2 separate regions of the Homo sapiens genome follow, and region 2 is linked to region 1. The links are contacts of gene promoters, found by promoter capture Hi-C in human tissues and cell types (Jung and others, 2019). All regions are on one chromosome and are shown on one strand. Each heading gives the region's core, a stretch centred on a gene start or on the middle of the fragment in contact. The rest is flanking DNA. Distances are from core to core; before and after follow the strand shown. Region 1 holds the start of SAAL1 (serum amyloid A like 1). Region 2 overlaps LDHAL6A (lactate dehydrogenase A like 6A).

Evidence for each region. The method cuts DNA at HindIII sites, captures the fragments that hold promoters and counts their contacts. A contact is called where the count stands out against the background at its distance.
Region 2: a fragment that was not itself captured here is called in contact with the fragment with the promoter of SAAL1 in region 1 in 1 of the 25 tissues and cell types used here (hippocampus).

The regions. Positions count from the first base shown.
Region 1 is chr11:18,104,509-18,107,546 of GRCh38, forward strand. SAAL1 (serum amyloid A like 1) reads right to left here and starts at 1,574. Exons shown (of 12, transcript NM_138421.3): 1 at 1,399-1,574. The coding sequence starts at 1,533. It also overlaps the pseudogene HIGD1AP5. RefSeq lists enhancers at 1,320-1,579, 1,730-1,779. The HindIII fragment of the contact is 11,884 bases long and covers 1-3,038 here.
Region 2 is chr11:18,461,793-18,464,614 of GRCh38, forward strand. It overlaps LDHAL6A (lactate dehydrogenase A like 6A), which reads left to right. Exons shown (of 7, transcript NM_144972.5): 2 at 2,169-2,286. Among named protein-coding and RNA genes, the nearest start is that of LDHAL6A, 7.3 kb to the left of the region's middle. The HindIII fragment of the contact is 8,025 bases long and covers 1-2,822 here.

The DNA of each region.
Region 1 (3,038 bases), core at 324-2,823:
GGCAAAGTGATTCAACTGAATTGTGGACAAAGAGTTCTGGTAGCAAAAACGATGGACCAATGACCTATTCCTAGGAGAAGATGGGGAACCTTCCCTTAGGTGCTGATATTTAAGCTAAATTTTAAAGGAAGAATAGTAGTTTGTCATGTGAAGAAGGAGAGAAGTGAGTATTCAGAGGAAAGCACAAGAGTTCAGAGTTAAGAAAGGGCCTAGCATGTTTGGGGATGGTGAACAGTTCAGAGTTGATGGAACACAGTGTATCATGAGAAGATGAGGCTGGAAAATGTACAAACAGCCCTGGATTCCAAACTTCAAGAAACATGCATTTTTCTCCCAGGCAAAAAGAACTAAGAGCAGTATCATGAATAGCCCTGTCTTTAAAGAAGATTATTCTGGCAGCTGTGTAGAAAATTGACTGGAGAGGATAGACAATAGGAGGAGAGGAACCAATTAGGGAAACATGGGGGGAAGAAAACACATTTACTGACAGCCTCCTATAAGCCAAACACCATGCTAAGCACTCTGTTGCCATTATAATCTCACTTAACCTACACAATAACCTTATATATAATATAAATATTATAATCCCATTTTATAGAAATTAAGGGACAAATAGAGGTTCTGAGCCGTTAGGTGACCTGCAGCTAGTGGGTAAGGAAGCTGCGTTTTTTGTTTTTTTGAGACAGGGTCTTACTCCGTCCCCCAGCCTGGAGTGCAGAAGCTGGATCATAGCTCACTGCAGCCTCCAACTTCAGGCTCAAGCGATCCTCCAGCCTCAGCCTCCTGAGTCGCTGGGACTACAGGCGTGCACCGTCACGACCGGCTTTTTTTTTTTTTTTTTTTTAAGTTTGTAGAAACCAGGTCTATGTTGCCCAGGCTGGTCTCAAACTCCTGGCTCAAGCGATCCTTCCGCCTCGGCCTCCCAAAGTGTTGGGATTACAGAGGTGAGCCACCGCGCCTGGTCAGAAGCCACGTTTTTAATATAAAAGTTGTATAACCCTAAAGTCACCATTTATTCTATTACAACGATAGTCCATGAAATACATAAATTAAGGACCTGGGCTTCAGAAATGACAGTGGGGATGGGGAGCAAAACCCGAGGAATGCAGTTACACGATCATGTATTTTTGGAGAACTTGGGAAAGCAAAATAGAACGGCAAGTATTTCAGCATCCCTACCATTATACTTCCCTTTGTGTCGAGAGACCCCGAGGGGGCCCAGATAGTTTTGGGGTCCGCAGCGGCCGGCGAAACGCAAGGAGCAAGGTCCCGCAGCGCACGCCTGGGGAGGGGTCTTTGTGGGGATGGCGGCTCCCGGGGCAGGAGGATTCGCCAGAGGCGGAGCCCCGGTGCCTGGGGGATGTAGGGACACCCCACGCGTGGCGCGAGTTTCCACACCTGGATGAGTCCGCTGAGGACGCCGAAGAGCCAGTGTTTGCTGTAGACCGTGCTCCCTATGCAGTCTCCACCGGCCACCTCCTCCTCCTCCTCCTTGTCGCGACCCGGCGGCGGCGGCGAGGGGTTGCGGTCCATGACTTTGTCGCGTCCCGCGCTTGAAGGCCGTGCCGGAAGCTGCGGAGGAGACGACCGGCGCCCTAGTGCCAGAGCGCCCGGCGTACCCGGTGGGACTCCCCCTACAGCGCCATCTGCTGTTCGGAGCCTGGCCAGCTGCCAAGGCGGCTTGACCTCCCCCACCCCATCCTATCGAGGACCCTGGCACGAACATACTCATAATTATTTGTCACCCTCACTGAATCAGGTGTTCCATTTCTCCAGGAGCTCTTAGACTGATTGAAGAAGGAAGGGTGGGGAGCAGTGAGGAAGCCTCAGGAACAGATGTGAATCTCAAAGCTAGCGGACTTATTCTATTCGCCTTCTGATCTATGTTGCCCAGGCTGGTCTCGAACTTCTGGCTCAAGCAATCCTTCTGCCTCGGCCTCCCAAAGTGTTGGGATTACAAACGTGAGCCACCGCGCCTGGTCAGAAGCCACTTTTTTTATATAAAAGTTGTATAACCCTAATAATATAATCCTCTGATCTCTGGCCACTGTTGCCATTCCTAAAAATATCCGTAGGGGAAGCTGGATGGCTTGTGAGGGATTCCAGGGATCCAAAGTGATTCGAAAAACTAAAGAGGCACCATTTGTCCCCATTGGAATGGCAGGTTTTGCAGTAGTTGCTGCATACGGATTATACAAATTGAAAAGCAGGGGAAATACTAAAATATCACGTCACCTGATCCACATGCGTGTGGCAGTCCAGCTTTGTTGTAGGAGCAATGACTGTTGGTATGGGCTATTCCATGTATCCGGATTTCTATGCAAAACTTAAACCTTAGAAGAAGAGATGTTGTCTTTGTCTTGTTGGAGGAGCTTGACTCATTAATGAGTCATCTCATTATTGAAGTTACATGTTTATGTTGAACATAAATTATTTGGGTAGGTTCAGATGATACTACGGTATTTTGAATAGTCGCTTCCTTTCGTGTAGGCTTGATTTGCCTGGTGACCAAATTATTAGTGACTAGTTCACTAACTAGATCATTCCGGGGAGCCAAGTTAACACACAAGAAACACGTCACCTAAATGCGCTTGATGGTGTTAAAATGTCCAACTTCTTAAACTGTTAAGATGAAATTAATACTAAGGAAGATAGCAGGCCAATCCTGAAGTACTCCCAGTTTGCTGCAGAATCTTGCATGTTTCGAATGTTAAGAGTCCAATTTACTCCAGTTAATTTAACTTTTTTTCTGTCTGTCTTGTGGACTGGTTGGCTCTTTTAGAACTCTTTAAAAAAAAGTGCATGAAATATAACTTGTAAAGCCTCCTACAACTGACAGTATTGTGTGCGTGTGTTTAAACCGAATCTAGAAACCTTACAACAGACCTGCATAGTATTAGTATTGATTAAAGAACCACAATTGTAAACATGAGAAAACCTTAATTATGGATTTCAGTTTAGCACTTTTGTAATTGCAGAATTACATTTTTGCTGCTGTTATATTAGAAGAATTTTTCAGTGTCATCTTGAAATAGAAA
Region 2 (2,822 bases), core at 308-2,807, 360 kb after region 1:
CAGTGAGCCGAGATAGTGCCACTGCACTCCAGCCTGGGCAACGAGCAAGATTCCGTCTCAAAAAAAAGAAAAAAAAAAAAAAACTAGGCTGGGCATGGGCTCACGCTTGTAACTTTGGTAGGCTGAGGCAGGCGGATCACTTGAGTCCTGGACTTTGAGACCAGCCTGGGCAACATGGTGAAACCCCATGTCTACAAAAAATACAAAAATTAGCCAGATGTGGTGGCAGGCTCCTGTGATGTGGTGGTAGGCGCCTGTTGTCCCAGCTACCCAGAAGGCTGAGGTGGGAGGATCATCTGAGCCTGAGAAAGTTGAGGCTGCAATGAGTCATGATCATGCTACTGTACTCCTACCTGGGGGACAGAGCAAGCCCCTGTCTCAGAAACAAAAAGTAAAAGTAAAATTCAGAAAGATACATACAAGGCCGGGCGCGGATTAAGGCTTGTGCCTGTAATCCCATCACTTTGAGAGACCGGGGCAGGTGGATCACTTGAAGTCAGGAGTTTGAGACCAGCCTGGCCAACATGGTGAAACCCTGTCTCTACTAAAAATACAAAAAAATTGGCCGGGTGCGGTGTCTCATGCCTGTAATCCCAGCACTTTGGGAGGCAGAGGCGGGCGGATCACTAGGTCAGGAGATCAAGACCATCCTGGCTAACACGGTGAAACCCCGTCTCTACTAAAAATACAAAAAATTAGCCAGGTGTGGTGGCGGGCGCCTGTAGTCCCAGCTACTCGGGAGGCTGAGGCAGGAGAATGGCGTGAACCTGGGAGGCGGAGCTTGCAGTGAGCCGAGATCACGCCACTGCACTCCAGCCTGGGCAACAGAGCAAGACTCTGTCTCAAAAAACAAACAAACAAACAAAAAAAAAAACAAAAAAAACCCAAAAATTAGCTGGGCATGGTGGTGCATGCCTGTAATCCCAGCTACTCAGGAAGCTGAGGCAGGAGAATCACTAGAACCCAGGAAGCGGAGGTGGCAGTGAGCCGAGATTGCACCACTGCACTCCAGCCTGGGGAACAGAGCAAGAGACTCCATCTCAAAAAAAAACAAAAACAAAAACAAAAAAACATACATGGAGAAGTCATACTGGTTTCCATCCAATCTTTCCTTAGCATCCACTTTAGGCAATTATTTGAATCAGTTTCTTGTATTTCTAGTGTTTTTTTTTTTTCAAATAGAAGTATATTTTCTCTCCTTTCTTACATATAAAGTAGCATCATAGAAATTATAGTATGAATTGATTTCTGTAGGTAATAACTGTCTGATTATAGAACTAAAATATTTTTGAGTTGGAAGGAGCCCTATATTTTAATCCATTTGCTGTGGTTTGAATGTTTGTCCCCTCTGGAACTCGTTTAAATTTAATCCTCAATGTGGCAGTATTGAGAGGTGGGGCCTTTAAGAGTTGACTGGGTCATGAGGGCTCTGCCATGGATTAATCTATGGATGAATGGGTTATCAGGGGAGTGGGAATGGTAGCTTTATAAGAAGAGGAAGACAGACCTGAATTTAGCAATCGCAGCCTCCTTGCCATGTGATGCCCTGTGCTGCCTTGGGACTCTGCAGAGTCTCCTCCAGCAAGAAAGCCCTCACCATATGGCGGCCCCCTGACCTTGGACTTCTCAGCCTCCATAACTGTAAGAAATAAATTCCTTTTCTTTATAAGGTACTCAGTTTCATGTATTCTGTTATAAGGAACAGAAAATGGACTAAGATACCATTTATTCAAAAAACTTTTACTGAGCTCCTCTGTGCCAGGTGGATGATAAGTAAGCACCAGATGGCTGGGGATGAATGACTTCCTAGTCTCAAGAAGCTCAAGGTCTGGTGAGAAATTCCTTCAGCAGAAGCACTACTTTATCACTGTGCAGCCTCAGCTGAAATTGAAAATCGGGGTGTTCACTACTTTCAGAGATTGTTCTATTTACTAAGCAGTTTCTGTTTTTGTTTTCCTCATGATGAGCTGAAATGCTCCTCTTTGTAATTTGTATTTTTTCTGGTTTAGACTTTTATATCATGACAAAATGATGAGATCATTTATTATGTTTCCTTTGATTTTGATAATTCACAAGCTAGACATAGATCACCAATATAAGAATTTTCTTTCATTCTCCAGTTAATCAAGAGATACACTCACACCCATTGGACTAACAATGTTTTTCAGGGTTTGAGTGATGAACTTGTCCTTGTGGATGTTGATGAAGGCAAACTGAAGGGTGAGACAATGGATCTTCAACATGGCAGCCCTTTTATGAAAATGCCAAATATTGTCTCCAGCAAAGGTTAATGTCATAGTTAAATACTATAAATATTCTAATATACATGAACAAGTATCTAAGAAAATCATCTTTATTTCTTTTGACCTCCCCAGTTTTTATAGATAAGGCTGGTTGCTCCCTACTCTGTACTCTCATAACGTGTTCAGATTCCTTGGGTTGTACTTTGCAAGGTTTCCCACGGCACCAGACTGAGTTCCTTGTGAGCAGCAGTAACAGCAGTTATCATGACAGCTACAATGAACTGACTGCCTATTGTGTGTGAGACATTGACCCAAGCACTTTATATAATTTAATCCTGAGCACAACTCTATTTTAGAGATGATGTACCTCTGAACTAAGGTTAATTAAAAGTGATAGGACCAGGCATGGTGGCTCATGCCTGTAATCCCAGAACTTTGGGAGGCCAAGGCAGGTGGATCACCTGAGGTTGGGAGTTCGAGACCAGCCTGACTAACATACAGAAACCCTGTCTCTATTAAAAACATAAAAATTAGCCGGGCGTGGTGGTGCATGCCTGTAACCCCAGCTACTCAGGAGGC